Regions from separate parts of the Homo sapiens genome. Here regions 2 and 3 are each linked to region 1. Evidence: promoter capture Hi-C in 16 types of primary human blood cells and fetal thymus (Javierre and others, 2016). All regions are on one chromosome and are shown on one strand. The core of a region is centred on a gene start or on the middle of the fragment in contact, and the rest is flanking DNA. Distances in the headings are between cores, read along the strand shown.

What was found. The method cuts DNA at HindIII sites, captures the fragments that hold promoters and counts their contacts. A CHiCAGO score of 5 or more calls a contact.
Region 2: a contact is called between a fragment that was not itself captured here and the fragment with the promoter of C10orf88 in region 1, in 3 of 17 cell types (fetal thymus, non-activated CD4 T cells and monocytes). The highest score is 6.8, in fetal thymus.
Region 3: a fragment that was not itself captured here is called in contact with the fragment with the promoter of C10orf88 in region 1 in 1 of 17 cell types (monocytes); the score reaches 5.8 in monocytes.

The regions. Positions count from the first base shown.
Region 1 is chr10:122,952,648-122,956,398 of GRCh38, forward strand. C10orf88 (chromosome 10 open reading frame 88) reads right to left here and starts at 1,580. Exons shown (of 6, transcript NM_024942.4): 1 at 1,368-1,580; 2 at 182-385. The coding sequence starts at 1,531. LOC124902519 (a long non-coding RNA gene) reads left to right here and starts at 1,795. Exons shown (of 2, transcript XR_007062325.1): 1 at 1,795-1,921. RefSeq lists a silencer at 1,296-1,375. The HindIII fragment of the contact is 5,860 bases long and covers 1-3,560 here.
Region 2 is chr10:125,825,416-125,829,176 of GRCh38, forward strand. It overlaps BCCIP (BRCA2 and CDKN1A interacting protein), which reads left to right. Exons shown (of 7, transcript NM_078468.3): 2 at 1,176-1,250; 3 at 2,143-2,223. Among named protein-coding and RNA genes, the nearest start is that of BCCIP, 3.8 kb to the left of the region's middle. The HindIII fragment of the contact is 1,463 bases long and covers 1,196-2,658 here.
Region 3 is chr10:125,856,085-125,859,916 of GRCh38, forward strand. It overlaps DHX32 (DEAH-box helicase 32 (putative)), which reads right to left. Exons shown (of 11, transcript NM_018180.3): 3 at 3,519-3,832. Among named protein-coding and RNA genes, the nearest start is that of DHX32, 23 kb to the right of the region's middle. The HindIII fragment of the contact is 2,494 bases long and covers 971-3,464 here.

The DNA.
Region 1 (3,751 bases), core at 330-2,829:
GCTGATCTACACTGTCTTTTAAGATCTCTAAAGTTGTAAACTTCTATGCCTACTGGCACATTTTTATCTTCTCTCCCATAACATATGGTATCAATATCAGAGAATCAATAATTATTGCAAAAAGTGAGAAAAATCAAAACACTACTTCAGAAGAACACTTTCCCGTGTACAAGTCACACACCTGTCATCCAGGACAGTACAAACATTCTTGCCCCTACTGGTTCCACAGTACTCCTCTCCTAAGTACACTTCCATATTTCTTGCTGAACTTAAAATGCCAATAGAAGCGATTTCTTCACCTCCATCAGGGCCACACCTCAGGTAAAGGAAGCAGGGGTTTTCATCTTTGTTGTTGTGGTTTCTCTTCAAAATCACCAGATCCTGACTGAGAAGAAAATTGGTGAAAACATCACACAGTATAGTTCTCTGAACATGACTCTTCTTTTTTGAGACGGAGTCTGGCTCTGTCGCCCAGGCTGGAATGCAGTGGCTCCATCTCGGCTCACTGCACGCTCCGCCTTCCGGGTTCACGCCATTCTCCTGCCTCAGCCTCCCAAGCAGCTGGGACTACAGGCACCCGCCACCGCGCCCGGCTAATTTTTTGTATTTTTCGTAGAGACGGGGTTTCGCCGTGTTAGCCAGGATGGTCTTGATCTCCTGACGTCGTGATCCGCCCGCCTCGGCCTCCCAAAGTGCTGGGATTACAGGTGTGAGCCACCGTGCCCGGCCGGGGCTTCTTTCTTCTAACTCACTTCCACTTGCCCTTGAGGTCCAAGCACCTTCCCAAGCATCCAAGAAGCGCTCAACACAGAATTCATACGGAAATGAAGGTGTCACACATCAGGGCTTTCCCAAACTCTATTTTTTCCTCAATCAACATTCTACTCAATCCCCTGCAATTGACTCTCGGATAATTACATAAATCACTGGGCACCTACTGGGTGCAGGGCACAATGAAAGACAAAAGTGTATCTTTTTCGAAATTAAGTCGACAGCGATCATCTATAGCTGGACTTTTTACACAGCCTGTTTTGGTGGACAGGAGGTGTCTTGTTTGAGGGTAGAGGGGCGGACTGACTTTGACAGCAGCCCTGAGGGGCTATCACGCCTGATGGGGACGTTATATGAAATTCCGAGTCCGGGTCACCTTCCCCCTCTCACGCCCAGGAGCCTCGGCCCCTTCCCGGCCGGACCCACCCCCCTCCGCCCACCCCGGACGACCTCGCAGCTCCCCTCCCCAACTAGAGACCTGGTACCAACTGCTCTCCCGGATCCCGGGCTCAGACCCTCTCGCCTCCCCTCACAGCTCCCCTAGAAGCGCGGCAGTTGCCGAGCATAGCGACCCCGTCCCCGTCGGCCCGGCGCACCCTGGAGCAGGCGGTGCCAGCAGCTCCTCCCAGTCGAAGTCACCGGGGCCGAGACCGGCCCGGGTGAGGAGGAGGCTGTGGGTCAGGGCCCCGCCTGCAACATCCCAAGAAGAGGCCAGCGTGGGGCGGCGGGTGAGGCCCCCGTCCTCGGTCCGCGTCTCCATTCCGCCGCCTTCAGTCAGGCCAGCCCAGCCCCGGAACCTCTCTTCCAGTGCTTGAATTTCCGCCGGTACAGCGTGGAAATGGGCAGGCAAAGCGACTTCCGGCTCACTCCGCTTCAAGTACCCGCCGCTTCTTGCTTTGGTGGGGAGAGCAGGCACCAGAGACACGCATGCGCATGTGCCAGCTGGCCTCAGGCGCGGCGTTCAAAGTGTGCGGGGAGGAGGTCGAGAGCGGAGCATGCGCACTGGCAGACCCTTGCTCTTTCGCTGGAGACTATGCGCAGGCGCGGTGCACTGCGCGCCGGCACGAGGGTGTTTTCGACGTTGGCTGTGGGGAAACAGCAAGCGGCGTGGACGACCGTTGCTGAGCTGGTGTGGAACGTCTGTGATCAGGTAGGTGTAGTCTCGTCGCTCTACGCTGCGTGCAAGACCGACTCCTGACCTCGTTCTTTCCCAAGGGGACGCCAGGGCCTTTTCTGCTTCCATTCCGTCGGATCTGCAGCATTTGTGGCAGCTAGCGCGGCGGACGCGCTGCCGATTCGGGTTATTTTTACTTCGAATTCTCCTAGCCTCCCTCACACATATTCTCGCTTTAGAGGGGGGCTGAAGCGGATGATGGGGTTTTGGGGTTGAAGGGCATCTGTGATGGGCATTGAGCCACGCTGGCCTTCGCCGGGTGCTGTCTCAGCTGACGCCCCCTGACCCCATGTGCAACCCTCAGGCCGCAGGAACCCGGGCATCCAGGGCTGGACGCTCTAGGTGACAGAAATTTGAAATGCAAGAAAGACCCAGACACCGAAGGCAGGGGCTGCCCCATGAGATCGCTCCTCATGGCACTGGAAACAGCGAGTGGAAAGGGGGGGTCTCAGAACTCTGTTGAAGTAGAATATGAACTCAGTCTTGAAGGAACTTAAGGCTACGGATGCAGAACAGTGGGAGCAGATGGAACTTTCTAGATGCCCCACGGGATGGGACTGTATATAGTGTGCCCCCTCATCCTCCTCCTGTAGAGGCTTGTGCAGATTATTTTTCTGTCTTTTGAAAAAAGCAAACTCTGAAATTCCACTTGTCTATAATCTAGAGTTCCAAAGTTGTGTTTAAGGTGGTATCCTCTCTAGGAAATAACGTTTTTGCTCACCCATACTCTAATTTTCTTTCAGAGCTGTCTATTCTGGGTTCATGACTCAGTGCGCATTACTTTAATCTTTTTGCTTATGTTTTCGTTTGAGTTTATGTACTAGGACTTGTGCCCTCTAGCTAAAAATGAGAATAAACTTTGCATTCTGTTTACCTGTGTCAAAGCAAGAAAAATGATGACCAAATGTATTTTTCTATAAGTAATCACCAGAATGTACGTATGGTAGGTGAATTCACCAAGATTGAAAGAGAGAAATGTCACCAAAGGTCTATCATAGCAGAATTGTAAAGTCCTCGTTTGCAAAGATTTTTTTAATATTTCAGACTCATTCTAAGTTGTCCTTGTCATTATTTTTGTCCTGTATGTCCTGCTTCCTGTGGTTGTAAGTTAACTTTGATCCACATTAATACATGTGGACAATCCGAAGGAAAATAGGCTCTTCAGAAACTAATCTGCAATTTCATGAGCAATAGCAATATTATAAACTGGATTTTGACTTCCTTAAATAAAGCTGAATGTCCAGGAATCAGAAAACAAAAGATTCCTATGGTCTATCCTTTCCTTTATTTCCATACAGCCAATAAACCACCAAGTCTTCATTTTCTTAAAGAAAAATTTTCCTATCTCTGCTTCTTCTGTTTCCAAGCACTAGCTTTATCTGAACAATTCCAGGAGTTTGTCAGTAGCTTTCATTTTGATTCCTTCCATTTCAGTCTTTGCACTGCCCTCTTCTCCTTCTGGTGATCAATGTTCCTGACTGAATCAACACCTTCACTCCTTAGCATAGCATGCAGAGTCCTTTGTACTTTGAACCCTGCCTACCTTCCAGTTTCCTCTACCTAGAATGCCATTTTTTTCAATAGTAGGAAAAATCCTATTTATCATGCGAAACCAAGCTTACTTCATCCTGCTACAGAATTAAACAAATTCCTCTGTGCTACAATTACCACTTTTTTAGGTAGTATAATTCTCCTTTGATGTCAGACTTTGCCTGTTTATATATCTGTGTTCCCTACTATCTGCATGCTTGCTGAGATAGACATTATGTTGAGTACAGGTTTGTTGTATGGAATTGATAGGTTGGT
Region 2 (3,761 bases), core at 677-3,176, 2.9 Mb after region 1:
AATGACAGTTTGTTATTTGGTTTAGTTTGATCCTGTTTGGAACACTCCCACCCGACCCCTTGTGTTTTGCTGCTCACATAATCTGGCTAAGTTAGCATTTGAAGTCTGCAAAGCTGGACTTAAAGAGTTCAAATTGGAGCTGGAATTGCTCTAAGCAATTCCAGGGCCTTGCAATTTTACAATTAAGGAAGACTTAAATATATACATAGTCAGGGTGGCAAGGTAAAAGGAGGTCTGATTTCCTCTGCGATGTTCTTCAGCTAAGACCTAAATTCTGAAACCGTTAAAACCTGAAGTGCCTTTAAATATATTATTTCATCAGAGCCCCAGGTTCATTGTGTCACTTATCAAGGTCTGATTTAGGGTCCTCAAGGACTAATCTTGTTAGTGTTTAAAAGCAACTAGGTTTTGTTTTTGGCATTTTAGTTCCATCTTCTAGATTCTGTTGTCTTGCAGATAGAGATCAGGGAGCCCAGCTACACATTCATTCTTCTAGTCCCTTGTACTCATTGTATTTCCTTCTGCCTTAGGGCCTTAGTTTGTGCTGTTCCCTGTACCAGGAACTCTCTTTGCTGTTTCTCGGTTTCTTGCTCAAATGTCACTTCAAGGAAGGCTTTCCTGACTGACTTCTTATTTTTTAAGTTGTTACAACATTGTGTACCTTTGTTTTATAGCACTTACATTTATTTCTATGAATATTTCCTTAATGCCTATATTCCTTCCTAAATCGTAAGCTGCACGAGAGCAGGATCATTTGTGTCTGCCTTACTAACCTTTTCATCTTGAGTGCCTGGCACAGTGCTTGGTACCTGGATTGATACTTAATAAATATTTGCTAAGCAAATGTAGTGTAACCTCAAATCCATGGGCTAAGTCAAGCTCTAGGCAATTCCAGGGACTTTTGAAGTGATTTTGATTTTTGCCCACCCTTGTAATCAGGAAAATAATTTATCCTTTGTGGCTGCCGTGTCTGGTTTATTTGAACTGGACTTTCTCAACATTTAAACTAGGTTACTCTGAGTGTTTTGTTTTCTCAGGCTTTTGTGTCACCTGAAGAAATAGTGTGAAGGTGCTTTGTATTCTTCACAGATGGCAATCTTGGCAATGTTTGCCTGTTTTAAAGTCTAGATGTTTGTAGTTTTTCTGGTAACAACTATTTTGTGTGTTATTTACAGGAAGTGAATATTGAATTTGAAGCTTATTCCCTATCAGATAATGATTATGACGGAATTAAGAAATTACTGCAGCAGGTATTGTCTTTTATTTATTATGCATAAATTTCCTCTTCTAAGAAAAATCAGGGGCCGGGTGCAGTGGTTCATGCCTATAATCTCAGCATTTTGGAAGGCCGAGGTGAGAGGATTGCTTGAGCCCAGGAGTTTGAGACCAGCCTGGGCAACATAATGAGAACCTGTCTCTACAAAAAAATTAAAAATTAGCCAACTGTGGTAGCACACACCGTTAGTCCTAACTCCTCAGGAGGCTGAGGCTGGAGGATTACTTGAGTCTAAGAGCTCAAGGCTGCAGCTATGAATGTGCCATTGAGCTCCAGTCTGGGCAACAGAGTGAGCCTCTGTCTCTAAAAAAAAAGAAAATTCAGGTCATTCAATACAGGCTCTCCCAAGTTCATCTTTTTAGAATTTCCATTTCTATCCTCTCCACCTTGCCTGGAAGGAAGAATTATTTCCTTTCATCTGCTAATTAGAGTTATTTTGTTTTTTTTTTTAATTCACAATTCTTATGTAACAGTCATATAACTGTGCTGTTTGGTGCTATAAAATTGATGCTTGCTGCTTCTCCTTATTCTTTTACTCATATAATATGACTTTGGTTCTTTAGCCTTTATAGCTCTACCGTCTTTTTCACCAAATTCTTTGGCCTTAAGTTTATCCTCTCTCGTTTCTCCCTTTTTTCTCCCCCTCCCCCATTACTTCTATATTACTACTGACTTCTTCTTTTCTGAAATTTCCTAATCTTTAGCTTCTTTGACTCTCCTGGGCTTTTCTTTCCCTCTTGGGGTTGCTTTTCTAGATCATCATCTTAAGTCACAGAAATTTCATTGTTTGTATTTGAATATAGGATTTGAAGTTATTAGAAATCATGCTTTGATCTTAATTTAAAATAATTTTTTCCTCCTTTTAGCTTTTTCTAAAGGCTCCTGTGAACACTGCAGAACTAACAGATCTCTTAATTCAACAGAACCATATTGGGAGTGTGATTAAGGTAAGTAGGATAATTGTGTTTATTCTGATTAAATGAGTTCTTTATTCTGTTCATGCTGGGCCTCACCATGCTTGTAATCCCAGCACTTTGGGAAGCAAAGGTGGGAGGATTGCTTGAGGCCAGGAGTTCAAGACCATCCTGGGCAATATAGCAATACTCTGTCTCTACAAAAAATAACAAAAAATTAGCCGGGCATAGTAGCACATGCCTGTAGTCTTTTTACCCAGGTGGCTGAGGTAGGAGGATCTCTTGAGCCAAGAAGTTGAAGGCCATGGTGAGCTTTGTGCCGCTGCACTCTAGCCGGGCAACACAGCAAGACCCTATATCTGAAAAAAAAAAAAAAAAAAAAAAAAAGTTCTTTATTCTGTTTAGCTCAAATTGGAAGCAGTATTACTGGAGGAATGGAGACTGATCAGAAGTCATTGCAGAAATCCAAGCTTATTAAATGCAGTAGTCCAGGTGGGGGCAATGGAGAGGGAGAGAAGTGGGCTCATTTAGAAAATATTTGGGAGATGAAATATGATGAGGTTTAGTCCCTGATTGGGTCTGAAAGTGAGAGGAAAAGGAGTCAAGGATGACTTCCAGGTTTCTAGCTTGAGCAAACAGGATAACAAACATGGAGGAAGGTCAAATTAGGAGGGGGAATGTGAATTTGGATTTGTACATTTTGAGTTTGAGTTACCTGTGAGATACCGGGTAGCAGGTGGAGCCCTGGAGACTTGGGAGTTGGTCGTAAATGTTACTGAGGTCGTAGAAGTGATTGAGATTGCGCAGGGAGGGAAGGGACAGACACCTTAGTAATACCAAGAATACTTCGATGAGTAATATAAGTGGCAGAGCCAGCAAAGGAGATTAAAAGGGATGACAGGAGAAGTAGAAGAAACAATAGTGCAGTGATGTCATACACAGCAAGAAAGATAACATTTGAAGGAGGAGGGGATGGTCATCTTTATCAGATAGATGTTGTAGAGAGCTCAACAAAATAAGGACTGGTTTAGACCCTGGGTCTGCTGCTTATCATCTGGTGGTTCTTTGGGTTATCTGTTGTTTGTATAACAAACCACCCCATAGCTTAGTGTCGTAAAATAGCAGTAGTCATTTATTTGGCTAATGGATCTACAGTTTGGACAGAGCTCAGTGGGCACAACTCATCTGTGCTCCTGCTCCATCATGTTAGCTGGGGTGGCTTGACTAGGGGCTGGAGGATTCCCTTTCAAGATGGCTCACTCACATGACTGGCAAGTTAGCCCTAGCTGTCTGTCGGGAGCTTAGCTGGGACTCTGGACCAGGGGCCTTAGTTCTTCTCCATGTGGGCCTCGTCACACATTGGTTTGCTTCCAAGAGCAAGCTGCCCAAAAGAAGCAGGCAGAAGTGATATAGTGCCATTTCCACCATTTGCTTAGTCTTTACAGATAGAAATTTCTATCTAGGGGGAGGGCACATTGATCCCACCACTCCATGAGAAAAGTACCTAGGTCACTTTGTCAGAAGAGCATGTCCAAGGAGAGATCCATTGGGGCCATCTGTGAAAGATACAG
Region 3 (3,832 bases), core at 968-3,467, 2.9 Mb after region 1:
AGAAAAGCTTTAAAAAATGTGCATCTGGTACTTCAGACATTTTGTTTATTCATTTCCTTGATTCTTATTCAATGTATGTGGTTTATTTACATACGCATAACTTTCCTATAACTACCTGCACAGTTACGGAAAACAGCAACACCCACTGAAGGACGATATCTAGCAGACATCTAGCTCACCAAAAATGAAAGAAGATCCACAACTGCATAAAACATTTCCCAGGAAAACCTCCAACCTAAAAACACCTTTGTGATAGTTTATTACTGTACAGTAATCTGGCTACATATTATCGTAAATCTCAATGTATGTTTTCTGCTTATTTCATATTTTGTCTTCCGGTTAAAAGACAGCTAGGTGATAGGAAACAACACGCTAAACATTCAGGGCTCTAAGTCTCAATTAAGTGCCAAGACACAGGGCAGCCTGTGAATCACAGAGATTAATTCACAGCAGGTGTGGTGCTAGGCAAGTGGCTGGAGAAAATGTGACACACCTAAGGCAAATGCACTGCCGTTTCACCAAAATGTTTGAGAATATTTCTGTAATTTAAAACATACTTCTTAATATAAAAAATGGCAGGGCTGGGTGCAGTGGCTCATGCCTATAATCCCAGCACTTTGGGAGGCCAAGACAGGAGAACTGCTTGAGGCCAGGAGTTCAAGACCAGCCTGGGCAACATAGTTAGACCCCGTCTCTACCAAAAAAAAAACAAAAAACAAAAACTAGCTGGGCATACTGGTGCACACCTGTAATCCCAGCTACTTTGAAGGCTGAAGAGGTAGATGGCTTGAGCCCAGGAGTTCGAGGTCACACTGAGCCAAGATCACACCACTGCACTCCAGCCTAGGCAACATAGTGAGGTCCTGTCTCTAAGTAAATAAATACAAATTTTAAATGACAATTAATACATTTGTATTAGACTGGTTGAGTTTGTTTTCACATGATATTTAAGTGCTACGGTAGGTTTTAAAGCTTTATATAGAAATCAAGAAAGCATCAAATAGCATGGGGGGAAATGATCAATAGCTGTTAGCACTGATTTCGGTGCAAGACAAATCTTTCCAAGACACAAATCCCAATCCATAAGAGATGAGAATCTTAATGAGGGATCCTGACAAAAATAGTAAAAAAGAAAAGTCCATCAGTATACTGAATGGTGTTCTGCTTGTTAGGCAGTAGATGGGGTAAGGAAAACCAGATAACACCTGTGGAATCCAAGGCTGAAGCAGGAGAAAGAAACCTGGTGCCCAGGTAAAGTCTGCTGAAGCCAGCCCAATGTCAGTGGCTGGCTTGCTGCCCCACCCACAGGGCAGGTCGGCTGTTGAGCCCCTGAACAATGAGGAGCTCACCTTTAGAGGGTCCAGTGCTCCGCCTGGGTCACAGAGGCTCAGAATTACAAAATCCTCTGGTAGCTTTCATGGCACTCTCACTTTAAGACTGCAAGACTGATGGTTTCTTAATAGGAATGCCTTTCCAGCCTGCCTTCAGGGGAAATTACATACCTCTCCAAGTCCTGTGGCATTTACAGTTTCTACTACCAGCCTGGATAATGATGCATGTTCTAAAGTTGACAGTTCAAAAGTCACTCTACAATTAATTATAGTTTATATTAAACTTATAAGAATCATGTACTCTAAGACCATCTGCACCTCAGTTCTGTTATGAGCTTTATTTTCCAAGATCCAAAATCCATTTCCAAATCCATTTAGGAATTTTTGCTTACCCTGACTTGAAGGATTACACCCATCCTATCAGTCTTAATTGCATTTTTTTCTTGCAGAAATGTATATCCTGGTTTTTTTTTTTTAATTTTTCATTTTTTTTTTTTTTCTAGAGACAGGGTCTTGCTCTGTCACCCAGGCTGGAGTGCAGTGGTGCAATCATAGCTCACTGCAGCCTCAAACTCCTTAGTTCAAGCAATCCTCCCACCTCAGCTTCCTGAGTAGGTGGGACTACAGGCCTGAGCCACCATGCCTGGCTAATTTTTTAATTTTTTTGTTGAGATAGGGTCCTGCTATGTTGTCAAGGCTGGTCTCAACCTCCTGGCCTCACGTGATCCTCCCGCCTCAGCCTCCCAAAGTGCTGTCATTACAGGTGTGAGCCACAGTGCCCGGCCTACGTCCTGTTTTTCACCTGGCAATTCTGACTCTCAAATATATTAGATTTGCCATTCTTCCCTTCCTTAGGCTTCATCTGTTTACACTGAGAACCTCCAACTGTTTTCATAAATCCTATGTCTCCGTAATCATTTTATTATTTTCCTCAGGACTTTCTTGAATATCTTGAATCATGCAGGATGAGATGATAACAGAATAAATCACTGTAATAGGCAGATTTGCTATTCAAGAGAATGTATATCATATACATACAAAAAATGATAAATATGCAGTCATATTGAGGTTCTAGAAACAGATACATTTAAGAAAACTAAAGTTCCCAAAGCCAGAAGGAGCTGTCATCCTTTATGCTTTGAGTATAAAATAGAATAAATACTTCTGAAAGTGTTTCTGAAATATGTGGATGTTCAAGAAAAGGCTCTGACAGACAGCTGAGCCACTTATCTGTTCAGCTGTGGCTCAGCCTACATCAAATAATTTCCTTTTTGGTTTCTGTTTAATGAGTAGAACCACTACATATATGGGTCATGGTCTAAAAACTCATGCTTCTCCTCTCTGTGGGAGAAGACAGGGAAAAAAGGCCAGGCAATTAGTCTCCATGAAGAGAGGTCTAATTCTGGAGATCCTGGAGGCTTTTAGATTCAGCCAACAGAGTAGTGGGGAAAGAAATAGGGCCAGTGTAGCTGCAATTTAAAAAAAAAATGCAACCCCAAATGGTACCTTGGCTGTCTAAAAGCAGTAACAGAATGGAAATGATGCTTGATTGCACATTTCCAGTCATTCTTTTAAAGAGATGTTTTAAAGAAATCTGAGTTAAAGGTTTTTTTTTTTGTTTGTTTGTTTGTTTTTTTTTTTTTTTTTTAATCTTTTAAGAATGGAGCCCCAGTCCAGGGAGATGACCTTTTCGGGTGGGCTATATTTTCTGCCCATACTCCACTGACTATCACAGGACTGCTTGTGGGAAATGTTGTGTTACTTAACTCTATGGTGAGTGCTTAGGTAATAGTCCTGATCTCCAACAAACACACCTGCTCACAGGGAGGCAGTGGAGAATGTCAGGGGAGTCGGCATGCACCTACTGTACCAAGAGACAATTCACAGCAAGCATAAATAGAGCCAGCTGTGCCTTTGGGGCAGCCACTCTCTGGCCTGAGCCTGCTGGAGGGAAGTTGGCTCTGGAGATCATGTCTAGAGACTCCTCACCCATATTTTGTTTTCAGAACTGCATGTGATTTTAGAAACACTTCCTGTTCTCCTTTCAGCACAGGTTTTATTTAATGAGGTGTGATGAAACCAAATATTTAAACAGTTAATTAGCAAACTGAAACCTGTATGTTAGTTATTAAAAGCTTCCCAAATGAAATACCTTATTACTGTAAGGTTAGAGTATCACTTACTTACTTGTTCACAGGCCAGAAAGACTACAATGTCACCTTTCTCACCCGAGTGGTGAATTTCAAAGATAAGGCGTAAAATAGACTCAAAAGAATCCTTTTGAGCCTCACTAAGGTACACAACCTCCACAGGGTGTTTATTTTTCACTTCTATGACAGGCACGTTTCCATAATAAGAATTGAGTTTGCTGATCAGGTGAGGTGAGGAGTTAATTATGAGCTTCAGTTCTGGTCTTGCTAGTAAAACATCTTTAAGAAGTCCAAGTAACACATCAGTTGCAATGCTTCTTTCATGAATATCATCTAAGATGATGACCCCAT